5 separate regions of the Homo sapiens genome follow, and all the other regions are linked to region 2. Evidence: promoter capture Hi-C in 16 types of primary human blood cells and fetal thymus (Javierre and others, 2016). All regions are on one chromosome and are shown on one strand. Each heading gives the region's core, a stretch centred on a gene start or on the middle of the fragment in contact. The rest is flanking DNA. Distances are from core to core; before and after follow the strand shown. Region 1 overlaps TULP1 (TUB like protein 1). Region 2 holds the start of ARMC12 (armadillo repeat containing 12). Region 3 has its middle 12 kb from the start of LINC03135. Region 4 has its middle 4.7 kb from the start of LINC03135. Region 5 holds the start of LOC124901310 (a long non-coding RNA gene).

Region 1 (3,724 bases), core at 304-2,803, 230 kb before region 2:
CAGCCTCCCAAAGTGCTGGGATTACAGGTGTGAGCCATCACGCCTGGCCTGGAAGTGACTTAGAATCACACCTGACACATAAATAGGCCTTATAAAAGTTTTGTTAAATACATACATTTATTTATTCATTTATTTTTGAGGCAGGGTCTTGGTCTGTCACCCAGGCTGGAAGTGCAGTGGCATGATCCCAGCTCACTGCAACCTCCCCGTCTTGGGTTCAAGAGATTCTCCCACCTCAGCCTCCCAGGTAGCTGGGACTCCAGGTGCATGCCACCACACCTGGCTAATTTTTGTATTTTTAATAGAGACGGGGTTTCACCATGTTGGCCAGGCTGATCTCGGACTCCTGACCTCAGGTGATCCACCCGCCTTGGCCTCCCAAAATGCTGGGATTACAGGCATTAGCCACTGTGCCCAGCCTAAATACATACATTTAGGAAATAAGGCCTGACTCAGGCATCCCCTTCCTTCAGCTCTCAGATTTGTGGTGAGGATTAGATGAGATGTATGGGAAGACAGCACAGGATAGTGCTGAATATATGTTCATTCACTTGATCAGTAAATACTTGTTGAGTAGCTAATATGTGTTCAGTGCTAGGAATTCAGCCCTAAACAAGGCAGGCACAGTGCCTGCCCTCGTGGAACTTATGCCCTGCTCCAAGTGAGGCCCTGGGCTGGCAGCAGTGTGGGCATCGCCTGGGTGCTCATTAAAAATGTAGACTCCCGGGCCCACCCCACACACTCAACCATTTTAACAAGCTCCCCACATGATCTATGTACATCAAAGCGAGAGGCCCTAGGCTAGGGGACGTTTCCAGGGTGCCCACTGTGGTGGGTGCTCTACCAGGCACAGCAGGACAGAGATGACGGGCTATGGCCTTTTGCTGACCCAAGTCCCCCCAGCCCCAGGAAGCCCAGCCCCACCTCAGCTTCCCGATGAAATTCTCCCCTCCTCGGGACAGATTGGTAGGGTCGATGGAGATGAGGTAATTGGCTGTCTTGCTCCGTTTTCGTTTCCTGCCAGCCAAGAGGAACACCTGGGGAAAAGGGGAGACAGGTGAGAGGATGGGAAGAGAAGGTGGGAAGGGGTGGAGGTGAGCTGCAGGGAGAAATCAGGCCCGTTTGTCCCGTGGCCCCCATGCCGGATCCCTCCACACTCCCTCCTCTGCTGCCTCTCCCCACCCACCTTCTTCTCCGTGTCCAGGTGCAGGAAGTAGGAGGGATACATGCCTCGATCCATGCCCTTTTTGTCCCGGGTCAGCCGGCAGCGCACCGTGCGGCCCTGGGGGGCAGGCCGGAGCACAAACTCCCGGGGTTCGTCCACCTCCACGGGGGGAGACGGGGCCCTCTCCTCCTTCTGGGTGGGGGCAGAGGGTACATCAGCCCCAGAGCACCAGCTCCCCCGCTCCCAGCAGGTCCCAGTGCTGAGACACGGGCAGCCCGGCAGGACAACTCACCGCTTTCTGTGTGCGGAGAGAACAGAGAGGCTGGCTAGAGCAGGGGCCGCATCCCTGGAGGCGGGGAAGCCACTGCCCCTCATGCTCCCTGGCAGCCCGGCACGGCCAAGTTAGGAGGCTCTGGGGAGCTCTGTGATTTATTTTGATTCTGCTTAGCTTGTGGATAGGAGCACACACTCTGGAGCCAGACTGTCTAGGTTCAAATCCTAGTTTCACTACTAACTGTCTTCACTGTTAAGTTTCACCACACTGTAACTCAATTTTCTCATCTGAGAAGTAGGTATAGTAGGGGTGGATACCTGGGACAGACCTTACCTATGTATTTAACACACGCTTGCATAAATTCTATCAGGGTGCCATAGTTTCAAGTACTTTCGAAATATTTACTCATTTCATCCTCTTATCACCCCACTGCGATAGTCATCCCCATTGTATAGATGAAGAAACTGAGGCTTAGAGAAGTTAAGTCACTTGCCCAAGTTCACATAACTAGTAAGAGGTGGGGCTGGGGCATGAGTTTTGTCCAATCTCCTATGAGGTCCAGAGCCTTTAGAAAGACCTTCCCTCCTTTGCACACTGTCTCAGGCAGTGAAGTGGGGCTAACAGAATGGACTGCTGTGTTCTAAGCACTATGGAAGTGTTAGCTGCTACTCTTATTGTTAGCGTATAGTAAATAATGAATACCATAGTCAAGATGATATTCATTATCATAAGATGGCACCCAGTGATCCTTGTCTCCTGGTATTTGTGCCTTTGTGTAGTCTCCTCCCACTGCATACCAGGGTTGGTCCCTGTGACCAGTAGAATATGGCAGAAGTGATCATGGGCCACTCCAAGGTTAGGTCATAAAAGATATTGTGGCTTCTATATGGCTCTCTGTCTCTTGGACTTTGGGAGAAGTTGGCTGCCATGCCATAAGAACACTCAAGCAAAAAAAAAAAAAAAAAAGAACACTCAAGCAGCCTCCAGGAGAGGTCCCTGTAGGAAGGAACTGAGATCTCCAGCTAACACCTACCACAGGGAACTATTTTAGAAGTGGATCCTTCATTTCCAGTGAAGCCTTCAGAGTGACCGAAGCCCCAGCTGACATTTTGACTGCAGCTTCCTCCGAGACCCTGAGCCAGAACTACTCTGCTAAGCCACTCCTAGATTTCTGGCTCTCAGAAATTGAATAAGAAAGTAAATGTTGTTTTAAGATGCTCAGTTTGGGGTGATTTGTTACATAGCAATGCATAGTTAACACATGAATGAATATGTAAGCTCACTTTGCTCATTGAGAAACTCCTAAGAACAATTTGGTGACATAAAGCCCTAGGGTGGCCTGGTGACCCCACAACAGCCCCTTCTGTTCTCACAAACCTGGTGCCCTTTGTCCTCATGTTCTATCCCTCACAGGAAGGGAGCCAAGAGTCTAAGCCCAACTTTTCCAACAGAGGCAAGCATGGACTGCCAGCCTGGGTGTGTGCATTTGAGGGTTCAATGCTATTTGGGAGCCACGAAGAATCCACAAAGATGTGCTGTGGTTGGCCATTTTTTAAAATTTATTTTTTATTTTTTTGAGATGGAGCCTCGCTCTTGTTGCCCAGGCTGGAATGCAGTGGCGTGATCTCAGCTCGCTGCAGCCTCCACCTCCTGGGTTCAAGTGATTCTCCTGCCTCATCCTCCTAAGTAGCTGGGACTACAGGTGCGCATCACCATGCCCCGATAATTTTTGTATTTTTAGTAGAGATGGGGTTTCACCATCTCTACTATTCGCCAGGCTGGTTTGAACTCCTGACTTCAAGTGACCCATCTGCCTCCTCCTCCCAAAGTGCTGGGATTACAGGCATGAGCCACTTTGCCTGGCCATGGCTGTTTTTGTTGAGCACAGGTTTGCAGTGTGTTTGAGGGAGGCTGATGTAGAGCAGTGAACCCTCAGCTCAGGGACAAGTGATCACCTGTTCTCTACTCTAGGTTGTTCCAGAAGAAACCTGGGAAACAAAAGACTATGTTTGGAACACGATGTGGAGAAAGCCAGAACTTATTCAAACACTTCAGCAGCTGCAAATTTCAAGAGCCTACTGTACTGAAGGCTGTTCTGCAGTTACATTCCCCTCTGGGAGACAGTAAACTGGCCTTTCAGTTTGTACATCAGCATCTGGTGATCTTGGTTAATGTGAATCAGTCCCCCTAGACCTGACCACTCCTGCACAAACTAATAAACCTACAAAGCTAAAATCCAGGCCCTGTCCTCGTGGTGATCTTCCCACTGGGAGAAACCTGTTCCT
Region 2 (4,156 bases), core at 878-3,377:
TGTTGTACTGTGGACTAGTAAAAATGTCACTCTAGGAATGACTCTGCCTCTAATCTCTCTGAATCATTTGAAGGCAGAACCAGAAGAAATGGGCCTTAGGTGTGGCAGGAGGGAGTTAGGTTGCAGCCAAGAAAGAACACTTTTTGGAGGTCTTTAAAGAACAGGTGAGCCTTACCTGTGCTTAGGAAGTGAGGGTTGCAGAATCGGCTCCATGGGATGGAGGGGCCAGTAACTCTGGGTCCCACCCTGGAGAAGGGCAGAGCAAGGACCTTGTCTTGAGGGATTTATTCTCAGATCCACCAAAGTAGCCTGGGAACCTAAATGACAGTTCCCATCAGGCAGCCGTTTTCTGCTCGGAGTTCAGTGGAGATGCGATGGGGTTGCATGGCAGTGGGGAGGCTTCCATGGGCTTCTACTCACCCCTCACCACAGGGAGTTCATGTAGTCACCCACCTTGGGGCTAAATAGAGTGCCAGGAATGATGACCCTTGAGGAGGGCTGAGGACAGGAATAGAATGGCCACCCAGGAGTGTTGCTTGTTCCCTGCCTGCTGCCTAGGGTGTACTGGGCCAAGGCTCTGAGTGGGCAGGCCTGGCTGGCCGCAGCATCATTGGAGATGCTGTTTCCCTACCTCCTTCCATCCTGGGTGCAGCCCAGGACCCAGAGCCTTCTGTCCCAGTTCTCCCAAAAAGGGATCAGGGCCAGGTAGGTGAACACCTGTTCTGGTGCAGCATGCTCAGCACTGGCTGTGGGCGTGGCCCTAGTTTGGAGCTGGCCACTTGCCTGTTCTGCAACAGAGAGTGGGGACAGAAGTTGCGGGGAGACCCTGGTGGGGAAGAGGGAAGGGTCTGGTCTCACCTGCCCCATCCTAGTGGTGGGGATCAAGACCTCCACAGGTGGGCTCACATCCTCTGGGGTGGTGGCATCTTCTGACTCCAGAGGACCTCACAAGCCGCCTCATATCCCTGGGGAGGCTGAGAGGTGATACTTCCAAATTTAGCTGAAAGGCACAGACTTACCCACATTTTAATCCTGGAGTTTTAGAATGGTAAATCCGAATCCCTTTAGGTTACAAATGCAGAAACAGACTAAGGCAAAGGCGATCCCTTTCTCCTCCAAGGTCACTCTGGTTAGAAGGGTCTGGAGCCCCAGTTACTAGATGCTGTCATTGTTCTGCCGCCAAGTCCTTAAAGAATGGCAGAACATGACTTAAACCACCTGCTAAGTACAAGATTCTATGCTGGAGATGCAAAGGTAGCTGTCCTCAAGAGCACTTTGTCAAACAGGTAAACTTCAGGGCAACATGCAGATGCTGGAAAAGGGTGGATTTGCCTCAAGAGTCTGTGCATGCTTTCTAAGATACTCCCCTCCTTTTCATCCTCTGATGCGGGGAGGGAACCCTACCTGAAGAAACACCCCAAGGCCCAGGGGTAGATCTAGGGTGGAGAGATCACATATGGGAGGGCCCGGAAAGAAAAGGAACAGGGTTGTCAATGGGCATACCCCAAACACCTCACCCAGAAATGCCCTAAGGCCCCAGCCCGGAAATGGACCTCTGCTGCCCTCTAATGGTGGAAAGGCAGCCTCTGGAGCTACCTGCTGGGGTCCCCCCTTAAAGAAGAGGAGATGTGAAGGACACTTCTGCCCTCTCCCCTTTTATTCCCCTTCTGTCTTATGCTTCATCTCCTGTGGTCTCTAAAGCAGAACCTTCTCTTTTTTTTTTTGAAATGGAGTCTTGCTCTGTCGCTTAGGTTGGAGTACAGTGGCGTGTCAGCTCACTGCAACCTCAACCTCCCAGGCTTAAGCGATTCTCCTGCCTCAGTCCCCTGAGTAGCTGGGATTACATGTGTGCGCCACAATGCCTGGCTAATTTTTTTGTATTTTTAATAGAGACAAGGTTTCACCATATTGGCCAGGCTGGTCTCGAACTGCTGACCTCAAGTGATCTGCCTGCCTTGGCCTCCCAAAGTGCTGGGATTACAAGTGTGGGCCATGGTGCCTGGCCCCATCTGTTCTCGAGCACTCCTGGCTGCCCCATTTCCTGACCACTGCCCTCCATCCCATTATCTCCCCAGTTTCCTTTGTTGCCTAGGTTCCAATTCTGGTACCCTGGTTCCTGACCCTGCCAGAGTTCTGGTTCCGGAAGGCCCCCCACAGGTGCCTTGGGCCTAGCTCTCACCTGGGCCCAGGGCAACACTGAAGACATGGGCAAGAGCATCCCCCAATACCTGGGGCAACTGGACATCCGCAAAAGCGTAGTCAGCCTGGCCACAGGCGCCGGGGCGATCTACCTGCTCTACAAGGCCATCAAGGCTGGCATAAAATGCAAACCACCCCTCTGTAGCAACTCACCCATCTGCATCGCCCGTGAGTGTCCGGGCCCTGGGGAGAGGGCTCTGCCCCAGGAGGCACCTGCTCCCGAGGCCTCTGCTGTGGGAGGGCCCAAAGGTGATGCCTCCAAGTTCCTCTTTCCTTTGTCTTTCTCTTGTCCATCTTCCTCAAGCCCACCCTGCAGCGTCCTAGGCAAGGCCCTGCCAGAGATGCTAGCTCAGGGTCCCTGGATCTCACTCAAGTGGATCCTCAGACTCATCTGGCAGGTCTCCAAATACTACATTTCCTCTGGCTCCCAGGATTCCACTTCTTGGAAACTTGGTGTCGGCAGCTCCCCCCATCCCTTTTCTGCCCTAGGAACGTGAGGCTTTAAGGAAAGGGAAGATTGGAGGACTTACTATATGCCCAGAGCTTCCACTAGTCCACATGTTCTTTTGTGCAGAGTAGGAAAATGAGCCCCTTCTGCAAGACTCTTTATTGCCATCTGCTGGAATATCATTGCCACATACTGGTTATGATGAAATACTACTTGTTACCGCCATATGCCAGACAGTTGTTAGAGTAAATGGACAAATCTATGATGGTACGTTATGGACAATACAACATTAGATAGGGTGCCCTTGTGCAGTAAACATTCGTTCAACTGTACATGGTGGTCCTGCATATGGCGAGAAGGCTTCTCCGAAAAGGCAAGGCAGCCTTGTCCCCAAGTCCCTGTCCCCTACTTCCCAACCCCATTCTTTCATCACTTCTGAGTCCACAGCCTGAACTGGGCTGGGGTGGCTGTCTAGGCCTGGCAGTCGAGCGAGAGCGGCACGGGCGGGACTCAGGTGAGCTCCGGAGGCTCCTCAACTCTTTGGAGTGCAAACAGGATGAGTATGCCAAGAGCATGATCCTGCACAGTATCACTCGCTGTGTGTACTTGCTGGAGGCTGAGGTAAGGGAAGCAGGAGGTCCCCCCTAGCCGGCCTGGCCCCTGGGGGTTACGGCCGATCCCTGCCCCTGGAATGGCCAGACTATATCCTGGGACCTCTCTCTGGCTGATAGCGGTGGGGGGGGGGTGTGCGGAGGGATCTTGGTGACATGGGGGGCAGTGGGCCCAGAACACCCGCTTCTCCTGCCTCTTCCATCTCTCCCCAATACTCCAGGCCTCTGCTTGTACTACGGATGACATCGTGTTGCTGGGCTACATGCTGGATGACAAGGACAACAGTGTCAAAACCCAAGCTCTGAATACACTTAAAGCTTTCTCTGGCATCAGAAAATTCAGGCTCAAAATCCAGGTGAGCCCAGGGATGCGTGGTGGGGCATGCAGGATGTCTATAGTCCTTAAGTCCTTTAATTGCCATAGGATAAATGGTCATGTTCCAGAAGTTTGTTTGGGTGTGAATTTGTAACCCAGAAATAAGTGGGAAAACGGTGGTCAGATTCCCAGCAGGGTCATGAAGGCCTTTGAATTTCAGGATGAAACTGAATTGAGGCACTAGTGGTATCTCTCAACCCCAAAGAGAAGGACCCCCACTACCCCACAAGCTCCCTACCACTGCCACGTTTTTTCTGACACCAATTCCCAACACTGGCTGGGTGTTCAACAATTCAATTCAGTTCAGACACTATCCATAGTTAGGGCAGACTTCACAGGTTAAGGGCTGAGTCCCCCAAGACTTCCCCCCGACTTCAGGTACCAATCATAGGTCTGACTTCTGACTGGCCCGCTATGAATTCGGGGGTTCCCACAACTCCCTTTTTAGATCTACTAATTTGCTAGAATGGCTCCCAGAACTCAGGAAAGGACTTTACTTACTATTACTGGTTTTTTATATAA
Region 3 (4,084 bases), core at 332-2,831, 210 kb before region 2:
ATGGTGGTGCGCACCTGTAGTCTCAGGTACTCAGGAGACTGAGGTGAGAGGATCACTTAAGCCCAGGAGGCAGAGGTTACAGTGAGCTGAGATAATACCACTGTACTCCAGCCTGGGCAACAGAGCCAGACCTTGTCACAAAAAAAATAAATAAATAAAAGAAAAAAATTACAGGGAAGATTTCTTTTTTATTAAAACCTTTATGTGAAGTAAAACATACTTATTGCAGAGAAGTGCATAAAACATAAATGTACAAGTTAATGCATTACTATGAAGCCAACTCCTTTGTAACCTCAACTAGGTCAAGAAATAGATATTGTCAGGTGCCAAAAGCCTCATCCTTTTCCTCACCTTCAAAGGCACCACCACCCTGATTTCTATGGGTATGTGGATTAGTTTTGCCTGCTTTGGAGTGTTATATAAATGGAATTATACATTAATTTTTAAAATTTATTTTTAATTTTTATTGCCTTAATTAATTTTTAAACATTTTATTATTATTTTTTAGAGACAGGGTCTCACTCTGTTGTCCAGGCTGGAGTGCAGCGGCACGATCATAACTCGCTGCAGTCTCAAATTCCTGGACTCAAGTGATCCTACTGCCTCAGCCTCCCAAGTACCTAGGACTACAGGTGCCAGCCATACACCTGGCTACTCCCTATTATTTTTTATTTTACTTTTATTTATTTACTTATTTTGAGACAGAGTTTTGATCTTGTTGCCCAGGCTGGAGTGCAATGGCGTGATCTTGGCTCACCGCAACCTCCGCCTCCCAGGTTCAAGTGATCTTTCCGCCTCAGCTTCCTAAGTAGCTGGGATTACAGGTCTGTGCCAACACGCCCAGCTAATTTTGTATTTTTAGTAGAGACGGGGTTTCTCCATGTTGGTCAGGCTGGTCTCGAACTCCTGACCTCAGATGATCTGCCTGCCTTGGCCTCCCAAAGTATTGGGATTACAGGCATGAGCCACCGCGCCCGGCCTATTTTATTTATTTATTATTTATTTATATTACTTTTTGAGACAGTGTTTCACTCAGTCACCCAGGCTGGAGTGCAGTGGTATGATCATGGCTCACTGCAGCCTCAACCTCTCAGGCTCAAGTGATCCTCCCATCTCAGCCTCCTGAGTAACTGGGACCACAGGTGTGTGCCCAGCTGATTTTTTGAACTTTTTTAGAGACAGGGTTTCCCTATGTGGCCCAGGCTGGTCTCAAACTCCTAGACTCAAGTAATCCTCCTGCCTTGGGTTCCCAAGATGCTGGGATTACAGGTGTTAGCCCCTACACCTAACCCTATATTATTTTTTATAAGCTTTATTCTTTTGCTTTTCGTATTGAAGACTATAGCCCACCTGGAATTTATCTGTTGATGGTGTGAGGTAAGGGTCAGGTTTCATTTTTTTCCCCATAGGAGCACACTCAGTTGATTTACTGAAAAGTTTACTCTTTCCCTGTGTGTGTGCTTTTTTGTTTTTTGTTTTTTGTTTGTTTGTTTGTTTTAAGACAGGCTCTTGCTTTGTAACCCAGGCTGGAGTACAGTGGTGTGATCTTGGCTCACTGCAACCTCCACCTCTCGGGTTCAAGCGATTCTCCTGCCTCAGCCACCTGAGTAGCTGGGATTATAGGCGTGCACCACCACACCTAGCTAATTTTTGTAATTTTAGTAGAGACAGGGTTTTACCATGTTGTCCAGGCTGTCTCAAACTCCTGACTTCAGGTGATCCACCCGCTTCGGCTCCCAAAGTGCTGGGATTACAGGTGTAAGCCACCGCACCTGGCCTTCTGTAGTGTTCTTTGCAAATATTTTGTTACATTCATTCCTGTGTAATCGATTTATCATTTGATGCTATTCAAGAAGCTTATTTAAAGCCCAGGTTCTTGGCCAGGTGCGGTGGCTGACACCTGTAATCCAGCACTTTGGGAGGCTGAGGTGTGTGGATCACCTGAGGTCAGGAGTTCGAGACCAGCCCAGCCAACATGGTGAAACCCCGTCTCTACTAAAAGTACAAAAATTAACCGGGCATGGTGCTGCGTGCCTGTAATCCCAGCTACCTGGGGGGCTGAGGCAAGAGAATCACTGGAACCCAGGAGGCTGAGGCTGCAGTGAGCCGAGATTGAACCACCGCACTTCAGCTTGGGCGACAGAGCAAGACTCCATCTAAAAATAATAATAATAATAATAATAATAATAATAAAACCAAGGTTCTGACTGGGCATGGTGGCTCATGCCTGTAATCCCAGCACTTTGGGAGGCTGAGGCAGGCAGATCACCTAAGGCCAGGAGTTCAAGACCAGCCTGGCCAACATGGTAAAACCTCATCTCTACAAAAATACAAAAATTAGCCAGGCATGGTGGCAGGTGCCTGTAATCCCAGCTACAAGGAAGGCTGAGGCAGGAGAATCACTTGAACCTGGGAGGTGGAGGTTGCAGTGAGTTGAGATCACGCCACTGCACTCCAGCCTGAGCGACAGAGCAAGACTCTGTTTCAAAATACATAAATAAATAAAATAAAGCCCAGGTTCTCTGGCTCAACATTTGGAGAGTCTAAGTGAGTAGTTCTGGAGTGAGCCCAGATGGGAATTTTGAAAAAGCTCCTGGTGGTTCTGATGTGCAGATCCCATCCTGTCTTGCTGCACTCATTATCTCTTTTCAATCCCCTTCAGTCCCCCTCCCTCCCAGCTGGCCCACGCCCATAAGCCTGTGAACATGCTTAGTCTCCGTGTCTTAGAATAAACCTCCCCAAACCCCTCCAGGTCCTGGCATCGCCTTTTTCTCCCATTAATAGCCATACTTTTAAGGGTTGACCACACCTGTGCTTTCATATTTTTATACTCCTTATAAAACCATGCAGCCCTTCACACAGTTTAAAATTGACATCTAATTCAAACCATCCTTACCCACACCTACTCCCCCCTCTGGTCTACCAGGCAGTCTCTCTTCTTCTACCAGCTTATACCCCTCCAGCCTCTGCAAAACAGTTGTGTGTGTGTGTGCGTGTGTGTGTGTCTTTTGTTTTGTTTTTAGAGATAAGGTTTTGTTCTGTCGCCCAGGCTGGAGGACAGAGGTGTGATCATAGCTCGTTGCAGCCTCAATCCCCTGGGATCAAGCGATCCTCCTACCTCAGCCTCTCGAGTAGCTGGGAATACAGGTGTATGCCACCATGCCTGGATAATTTTTAATTTTTTAATTTTAGATTTTTTTGTAGAGAAGGGGTCTAGCTATGTTGCCCAGGCTGGCCTCAAACTCCTGGCCTCAAGCAATCCTCCCACCTCCACCTTCCAAAGTGCTAGGATTATAGGCGTGAGCCACCATTCCTGGCCTGAATGATCTATTTCCATCCCTGGATTATTTCTCTTTTTCTTATTGGTGTGTAGGAGCTCTTTGTAATAATATAGATATTAACTTATCTGTCACATGGATTTCAAATGTCTTCCCATTTTATTATTCCCTTTGACTTTGATGAAGGTATCTTTTGCTATATACAGTTTTAAATGTTTATGTAATTTTATATGTGTATCTCTTCTCCTATAGCTCTGGTTTTCTGGTCTTAGTTTGAAATATTTTATATACTCTGGCCGGGCACAGTGGCTCACCCCTGTAATCCCAGCACTTTGAAAGGCTGAGGTGGGTGGATCACCTCAGGTCAGGAGTTTGAGACCAGCCTGACCAACATGGCGAAACCCTGTCTCTACTAAAAATACAGAAATTAGCTGGGCATGGTGGTGGGCGCCTGTAATCCCAGCTACTCGGGAGCCTGAGACAGGTGGATCGCTTGAACCCGGGAGGCGGAGGTTGCAGTAAGCTGAGATGTGCCATTGCACTCCAGCCTGGGCAACAGAGAGAGGCTCTATCTCAAAAAATTATATATATTTTATATACTCTGAATATTGTTTACATTTATATGTTTAAAGCATTTGAAATTTATTTTCACGATTTTGGTGAGAAGTAGGGATTCCACCTCATTTTCCTCCTAGTGGGACAGCAAGTTGGGTCAACATCACTTATTAAAGAAAGTATCGGGCTGAGTGTGATGGCCCACCCCTGTAGTCCCAGCACTTTGGGATGCTGAGGTGGACAAACTGCTT
Region 4 (3,615 bases), core at 643-3,142, 190 kb before region 2:
GTTTGTGTCTTTAGCCCCACCGTACAACATACTTCTGCATTTAGTGAATATGAAATAAATGATGGTACACAGAGTGTATAGAAGTGATTGTATGCTGTGCTTGTAAAAATGATTAAACAACTTGAATCATTTCAATTCAGTTATATGATTGCTTGGAGTTTTAATTTGTTTTTAATTCTTTTTTTTTTTTTTTTTTATAGTTGAGATGGGGTCTTGCGATGTTGCCCAGACTGGACTGGAACTCCTGGGCTCAAGCCATCCTCCCGCCCTAGTTTCTTTTTTTTTTTTCTTTTTTTCTTTTTAGACAGAGTCTCGCTCTGTTGTCCAGGTTGGAGTGCAGTGGCACAATCTCAGCTCACTGCAACTTCCACCTCCCGGATTCAAGTGATTGTTGTGCCTAGACCTCCCAAGTAGCTGGGATTACAGGTGTCCACCACCACGCCCAGCTGATTTTTGTATTTTTAATAGAGACAGGGTTTCGCCATGTTGGCCAGGCTAGTCTCGAACTCCTGACCTCAAACGATCCACCCACCTTGGCCTCCCAAATGTTGGGATTACAGGTGTGAGCCACCACACCTGGCCTGCCCTAGCCTCTTAAATAGATGGGATTACAGGTGCCTGTTGCCATACCTGTAATCCCATCCCAAATCCATAAATTTGCTGTTTTTTGAATTTAAAACAGCAAAATAGAATGTCAGCTTAAGGTGTAGTTTTTTTTAATCAGTATAACTTTTAATTGGTACATGAAATATTTCATTTGATTGAATAATATTTTTAAAATTTGAAGTTAATTTTTTGTTTTAAAATTAAGTAATGAAGAAAATAATTATTAATGAGAACATGGTTATTAACTGAAAATCATTTCTTGTATAGAGAAGGGGGCATTGGAATGGTCCCCCAGGGTATGAAAGGCGTGAGTTCTACACTGAGCGCAGGCGTGGGAGCCCTTGCTCAGCCATCCCGGGAGCTCTGCTGTGCCAGACTATTAGCTTGGGCTCCCATCCTGGATGGCTGAGCTTCACCTTTGAGTATTTTCCTTAGGAGGAGCTCACAAGAGCAACATTCCTTGAGTTTTGCCTGTTCAGAAATGTGTGGGCTGGGTATAAACGTCTTGGGTTACATTTGCATCTTTCAGGATTTCTAGGTGTTGTTTGCTCCGCTGTCCTATAACATTGGGTCGCAGTTGCAGAGATGGGTGAGCCCCGCACATTCTTTTCTTCTTACTGGTGATTTGGTCCGTTAGCCTGTCAGTTCAAAGAATTGTATCCTTATCTGTGAACGTCAGTTCATTTGGAAATGTTGACTGTTTATATCCACTTTTATTGGGACATGGCCTTTGAAGATGCATAATCCTGTTTTCTTAGTGCTGGAAACAGTTTCAGGATTCTGTCTTCATGTTTGTTCTTTTGTTTCCTTAGGAACTACAACTGCGTATCTATTAGCTCTCTTGTCCGTTTGCCATATGTCATTTCCTTTTAGCTATCTAGGAAGAAGAGCTTACAGGGTAAACTTCCCATTTAACTATCCCCTTTCCATTTTCTCACTCACTTTGTTACAGTCCTCTCTGTGTTTTTGGTGGCATCTGCTTTTCCTGTGATACTTTCCATTTTCTCTTCTCCTCTGTGCTGCTTTAATTTTTCTCTTCCACGTATTTCCTGGGTTTTGCCAGCTCTTTCTCTCTCTCTTTTTTGAGACAGAGTCTCACTCTGTCACCCAGGCTGGAATGCAGTGACACAATCCTAGTTCACTACAGCCTTGCACTCCTGGGCTCGAGAGATCCTCCTGTCTCAGACTCCAAGTAGCCAGGACTACAGGCCTGCACCACCATGCCTGGCTTTTTTTTAATTAAAAAAAAATTTTTTTTCAAGATGGAGTCTTACTCTTTTGCCCAGACTGGAGTGCAGTGGCGCTTTCTTGGCTCACTGCAATCTCTGCCTCCTGGGTTTATGTGATTCTCCTGCATCAGCCTCCAAAGTAGCTGGGATTACAGGTGCCCACCACCAGAGCCGGCTAATTTTTGTATTTTTTTTTAGTAGAGATGGGGTTTCACCATGTTGGCCAGGCTGGACTTGAACTCCTGACCTCGTGATCCACCTGCCTCAGCCTCCCAAAGTGCTGGGATTACAGGCATGAGCCACCGCACCTGGCCATTTAAAAATACATATGTATTAATTTTTTTTTAAGAGATGGGGTCCCTCTTTGTCACCCAGGCTGAAATGCAGTGGCATGATCATAGCTCACTGCTGCCTCAAATTCCTAGGCTCAATAAATCTTCCTCACTCAGCCTCCTGAGTAGCTGGGACCACAGGTGCATGCCATGCCCAGCTAATTTTTAAATTTTTTGTAGAGATGGGATCTTGCCATCTTGCCCAGTCTGGTGTAGAACTCCTGGCCTCAAGCAATCCTCCCATCTTAGCCTCCCAAAGTGCTAGAATTACAGGCAAGAATCTACTAGGCCTGGCCTATTCTTAATTTTTTGTAGGGATGGGGTCTCACTATGTTGCCCAGGGTGGTCTTGAACTCCTGGCCTCAGGTGATCCTCCTCACTCAGACTCCCAAAGCACTGGAATTACAGGCATGAGCCACCATGCCTGGCCTCAGTTTCTTTCTTTCTTTCTTTTTTTTTTTTTTTTTTCTGAGACGGAGTCTCGCTCTGTCACCCAGGCTGGAGTGCAGTGGCATGATCTTGGCTCACTATAACCTCCGCCTCCTGGGTTCAAGTGATTCTCCTGCTTCAGCCTCCCAAGTAGCTGGGATTACAGGCACTTGCCACCATGCCTGGCTAATTTTTTTTTTTTTTTAGTAGAGACAGGGTTTTACCATGTTGGTCAGGCTGGTCTCGATCTCCTGACCTCAAGCAATCCACCCGCCTCAGCCTCCCAAAGTGCTGCAATTACAGTCGTGAACCAACGTGCCTGGCAACCTTAGTTTCTTATTTGTGCTTTGGCTTTACGGAAGAGTTTTTTTTTTTTTTAAATTTTTAAATGAAATACTTATTTGAATTTTTCACCTGCTCAGTGGTAAAAATTTTCTAATAAGTGTTCTTCAGTTTTTGTATATTTATCTTGTTCCTTTCTTCCTTTTTTCTTTTTTTTAAATTTATTTTTTATGTTGTAGAAACAATGTTTCCCTGTGTTGGCCAGACTGGTCTTGAATTACTGGGCTCAAGTGATCCTTCCCTCTTAGCCCCCCAAAGTTCTGGGATGATAGGCATAAGCCACCACACCTGGCCCCTTTCCTCCTTTTTTCTTCTAGTGTCTTTGCATAGATCCCCTACTGATTCATCTTTAATTTATTTGAGAGGGTGAGCTTTTCAGGTGGAATAAGAGCCAGGGCCTTTTCCAAGGAGTAGGTCAATGCTGGGGCAGAGTTGTCAACTGCCAGGCTGACTGTGGAAGGCACACCCCAACATGCACCCAGAGCCCCTGGGCAAAGGCTGTGAGGCTTGCTGGTTCCAGGCAGTGACAGAAATCTGTGTCATCATTGGCTGACCACTAAGCTAACCAAGAAAAGACTTCAGTAGCCATATACAACACAGAATATAGACTTCACAGAATTAAGTCAGAAAAGTCACTAAGCAAACAACAGTAATTACAACAAATCCTGGGGAGGGAG
Region 5 (4,161 bases), core at 181-2,680, 170 kb before region 2:
AACATTTTCTCCCATCTGGTAGTACCCACCTTCCCTCTGAGCTTTTCTTGGCTCCTATTTCTTTTAACATTTTTTTGGTCTTTATGGGAGAAGATGGGGACCGCAGCTGGAGGGGAAGGCAAGGGGCTGAATGGAAAATGGGTACTGCTTGGGAAAAGGCAGCTTGCTTGGCTATTTGGTCAGCTAGATTATTTGCCCGGCTTTCAAAGGAAGGGTTTTCTTTTTACTATTTTCCTGGGAGTTTTTAATTTGACCTCGATTGGAGGAACTGGTAATTTCTCTCGATGTCCTTTTTTTGACCATGTATCAGGATGGATACACTTTTCATAATCTGTGGTGGTAAGTTCAGGGAGGTGAGAAGTTTTCCCTGATTAATGTAGAGGCTTAAGCCAAATTTTAACATTAGATCTCTCCCTAATAGGTTTGTTCTTGCCTCTGGAATTAACAGAAATTTAATATTAGCTGATCTGCTTTTATATATGACTTTTGTTTCTTTTTCCCATTTGGGACATTCTCTTTTGAAGTGACCTATTCTTTTACATTTGAAACATTTGTTTTGTCTTCTTTCTCTCTCTCTCTGCCTCTCTTTCTCTCCCTCTCCCTCTGGCTCTCTGTCTTTTCCTCCCTCTCTCTCTCTGTCTTTCTCTTTCTGCCTCTCTTTGTCTCTCTGTCTCTCCTTGCCTCTCCATCTTCTCTCTTTGCCTCTCTTTCTCTCTCTCCCTGACTCCCTCCATTCCCTCTATAGGCTGATCTTTCCAGTTCTCTGTTTTTGTAATTTCTTTGTGATATTTGGCTACTAGTAACAAAATGGAGCTTTAACATCCCCTGTCCAAGGGGATCCTTTATGTTTAAGCCTGTATATTTTCTTACCTGTTCCTTGAGTCTGTTTAAAAACTCCGTGGGCCCTTTGTTTTTTCCTTGCTGCATATTAAATGCTCGGGAAATATTTTGGGTTTGAGGCACTGATTCCCGAATCCCTTTAACTATCATTTTCCTAAGGCCTTTCATGTTTTCTTGGTGGGCTGCATTGTTATTATCCCATTGGGGGTTTTGGGCCGGCGATTTTTGTTCTGCTGCAGGGATATTTTGACTGGGAAGGTGTTTGCGCTCTCAGACTATCATAGCAGCCCTGCGGATCATGGTTCTTTCCTCTCCCGAAAAGAGAATACTTAAGATGGACATTAGCTCAGCCCAAGTGTATACTTGTGGTCCTAAAAATCGGTTAATTTGATCCACAACCCTAAAAAGATCATCTAATAGTGGTTTAAGTTTCTTCCTTAGGTTTCTGACCTCTGAACTAGTTAAGGGGCATTTACAAAGCCAATTTCCCCTCCTCCTAGAGGCACTTCCCTTAAGGGAAAAAGGGTTGGGGTAGACTTTTTTGAGGAGGAGGGGAAAGGGAAATTTTGAATCCCATGTGCTAGTGGACTGTTTGGGGTTAGGGATTTTACTTTCTTTAGGGGAGGTATTTTCTGGCTTTTTTTCCTGCAGTTTTTAGGGGGTAGAGGACAGGCCCCTGCCGCCAGTGCAGGGCATAGTCTATTTCTTCCTGGGAGACAGGACTTTTGTTATTTACATACTTTATTAAAAGTTGACAAATCTAATCCTTATTTGACCCAAAACTTGGCCAGAAAACTAAAGGTTTAAGAATAGTTTCTTTGGTTCAAAAAAAACAACAATATTTTATCATCTGTTGCTTTTTCTTATGTTTGGTCCTTTGTAGTTCTTGTTTTACTAGGGGTATTTCCCATCCTGGAAGTTAATGGGGGCTCAGTCTCTCCTATTAGAGATTTCTTGCACCCTTTTCCCTGAAGGCTCAACCTGAGTGTGTGTGGGGCTCAACCTCTTTTTTTTTTTTTTTTTTTTTGACACAGAGTCTCGCTTTGTCACCCAGGCTGGAGTGCAGTGGCACGATCTTGGCTCACTGCAAGCTCCACCTCCCAGGTTCACGCCATTCCCTGGCGTCAGCCTCCCGAGTAGCTGGGACTACAGGCGCCCGCCATCACGCCCGGCTAATTTTTTTTTTTTTTTTGTATTTTTAGTAGAGATGGGGTTTCGCTGTGTTAGCCAGGACGGTCTCGATCTCCTGACCTCGTGATTCACCCGCCTCGGCCTCCTGGCTCAACCTCTTTTACTAGAGATTGTTTTTTTTTTGCTCCCTTTCCCTGGAGGCTCAGCTCCCCCACTGGAGATTTCTTGCACTCCTTTACTTTACTCCACACTCGCTTTGCACTTAATTGTGCATCTTATTTACACACTTTTAACCTCCAAACTGTCCCTACCACCAAGGAAGTACTTCACCACCCCCACAGTTTTTCTTACCTTGGTCTGTGCATAGCGTTACCTGCTCACCACAGTAACTGTAGGCCTTTTCTTCCTGTGTTGCTAAGAGTCTGGGTTTATTGGTTGCACTGGGTGGGTCCCGATTCTTTACCCTTGAGGCCACTGCAATGAGTTAGCGGGATGCGTCTCCTCATGAGAAGTGATCAGAGACCCTTTCCCGGAGGAGAATGAGGTCCCCATATGGGCCACCAAATTTGTTGGAAACAAATGCTCAGTGCTGCAAAGAAGAACCAGCACTGAGACAAAGGATCTCTCAGCAAGGCAAATTTGCTTCTGCAGAAGGGTGCTTCTTGTAGGTCTGGTCGCCACGAGAGCACCCCAAACAAAGGAGGGAAGGGGTTTTTATTCCTAACACAGCTTGTGCCCGCTACTGTGTCCTGTCTCCATTGGCTGGAGCTGGACCAATCCAAGCTGAACCCGGTTGGCTAACTTGAAAAGTGCAAGAATGCGGTTACACTGGTGGGGGGTGGGAGGAACAGTTTCTGCGGGGAGGGTCGTTGTGACGGGAGGGGTAATTCACAGAGTGGGTAGCAGATGTGGAATGTGGGCTGTATAGATAAGGACTGGTGGGAAGGTTGTTTACCAGGGCAGGGGGACACAGAGAGTAAGGAAGTCTGGCCTTGAAAGGAGGGAACAGAGGACAAGGAAACTTAAACAAGCTAAACCTTTGAAGAAGAACTTCTTACTGTATTTAACACTAGCCTGGCCAACATGGTGAAACCCCGTCTCTACTAAAAATACAAAAAAGCCGGGCATGATGGCCCATGCCCAGTTACTTGGGAGGCTGAGGAACAAGAATTACTTGAACCCGGGAGGTGGAGGTTGCAGTGAGCCAAGATTGTGCCACTGCACTCCAGCCTGGGCAACAGAACGAGAGACTCTGTCTCAAAAAAGAAAAAAAAAACCTGAAAAATTGTTAAGATGATAAATTTCATGGTATGTGTTTTCTACTATAATTAAAACAGTTGTATAAATATTAGCCATTGTTATTTCACAGGTGAGGAAACAAGAGATCCCAACACAGAGCTGGACCCAAACCAGTGCTCTTGCCAAACATTGGAGGCCTCTGTGTTCCTCAGATTGAGGAGGTCCTGATGAGGACATTATGAGGGGCCCTGTTTTGCAGTTATCACCGCAGAAGTGGGCAGCACTCTCTGTAGGAAGTCTGGTCTCGGCAATCATCCAGCCAACTGGGGTTATCTCAGGTTATAACTTGGTTCTGAGGCCCCGACTTGCAGCCTGAAGGTGGCTTGGTTTACTTACCTACTGTCACATTTGGTAACGGCTGAAGGGTAGAAGGGTGCAAACCTCACTGTATTGTCTTATTACAATCTGCTCCTTGTCAACCAGACAGCTGGGTTCAGAGAAAGCTTAGAAGCCCATATAGAAAGCCTTGCGTGCCCTTGCGAGAGACAGAGTGGAGAGAGAGAGGAGCATTTACCAACTCACTCAAGCAGTGTAGCTTTCTCTGCAGGGAAAGTGTGTTGGTGACAAAGGGGTGAGGGTTCCCAGAACAGTCAGGAAGTTTATTTACTTAGTTATTATTATTTTTTGAGACGGAGTCTCACTCTATCGCCCAGGCTGGAGTGCAATGGCACAATCTCAGCTCACTGCAAGTTCTGCCTCCCAGGTTCATGCCATTCTCCTGCCTCAGCCTCCCGAGTGTCTGGGACTACAGGCAGCCACCACCACGCCCGGCTAATTTTTTGTATTTTTAGTAGAGACGGGGTTTCACCGTGTTAGCCAGGATGGTCTCAATCTCCTGACCTCATGATCCGCCCCCCTCAGCCTCCCAAAGTGTTGGGATTACAGGTGAGA

What was found. The method cuts DNA at HindIII sites, captures the fragments that hold promoters and counts their contacts. A CHiCAGO score of 5 or more calls a contact.
Region 1: a contact is called between a fragment that was not itself captured here and the fragment with the promoter of ARMC12 in region 2, in 1 of 17 cell types (naive CD4 T cells). The highest score is 5.4, in naive CD4 T cells.
Region 3: a fragment that was not itself captured here is called in contact with the fragment with the promoter of ARMC12 in region 2 in 10 of 17 cell types (activated CD4 T cells, naive CD4 T cells, M2 macrophages and 7 more); the score reaches 10.1 in activated CD4 T cells.
Region 4: a contact is called between a fragment that was not itself captured here and the fragment with the promoter of ARMC12 in region 2, in 5 of 17 cell types (non-activated CD4 T cells, activated CD4 T cells, total CD8 T cells and 2 more). The highest score is 7.0, in non-activated CD4 T cells.
Region 5: a fragment that was not itself captured here is called in contact with the fragment with the promoter of ARMC12 in region 2 in 17 of 17 cell types (non-activated CD4 T cells, naive CD8 T cells, total CD4 T cells and 14 more); the score reaches 15.4 in non-activated CD4 T cells.

Annotation. Positions count from the first base shown.
Region 1 is chr6:35,504,817-35,508,540 of GRCh38, forward strand. TULP1 (TUB like protein 1) reads right to left here. Exons shown (of 15, transcript NM_003322.6): 9 at 1,458-1,463; 10 at 1,187-1,357; 11 at 925-1,037. LOC124901309 (a long non-coding RNA gene) reads left to right here. Exons shown (of 2, transcript XR_007059561.1): 2 at 3,411-3,678. Among named protein-coding and RNA genes, the nearest start is that of TULP1, 6.2 kb to the right of the region's middle. RefSeq lists a silencer at 3,545-3,724. The HindIII fragment of the contact is 4,634 bases long and covers 1-3,724 here.
Region 2 is chr6:35,734,905-35,739,060 of GRCh38, forward strand. It overlaps ARMC12 (armadillo repeat containing 12), which reads left to right and starts at 2,128. Exons shown (of 6, transcript NM_001286574.2): 1 at 2,128-2,367; 2 at 3,123-3,268; 3 at 3,480-3,614. The coding sequence starts at 2,205. LOC285847 (a long non-coding RNA gene) reads right to left here and starts at 2,043. Exons shown (of 10, transcript NR_027117.2): 1 at 1,937-2,043; 2 at 859-974; 3 at 176-460. RefSeq lists enhancers at 2,408-3,016, 3,017-3,625. The HindIII fragment of the contact is 11,422 bases long and covers 1-3,574 here.
Region 3 is chr6:35,529,664-35,533,747 of GRCh38, forward strand. No RefSeq gene overlaps it. Among named protein-coding and RNA genes, the nearest start is that of LINC03135, 12 kb to the right of the region's middle. The HindIII fragment of the contact is 546 bases long and covers 1,309-1,854 here.
Region 4 is chr6:35,546,503-35,550,117 of GRCh38, forward strand. No RefSeq gene overlaps it. Among named protein-coding and RNA genes, the nearest start is that of LINC03135, 4.7 kb to the left of the region's middle. The HindIII fragment of the contact is 7,468 bases long and covers 1-3,615 here.
Region 5 is chr6:35,564,292-35,568,452 of GRCh38, forward strand. LOC124901310 (a long non-coding RNA gene) reads right to left here and starts at 2,660. Exons shown (of 2, transcript XR_007059562.1): 1 at 2,323-2,660. RefSeq lists a silencer at 2,374-2,574. The HindIII fragment of the contact is 4,561 bases long and covers 1-3,711 here.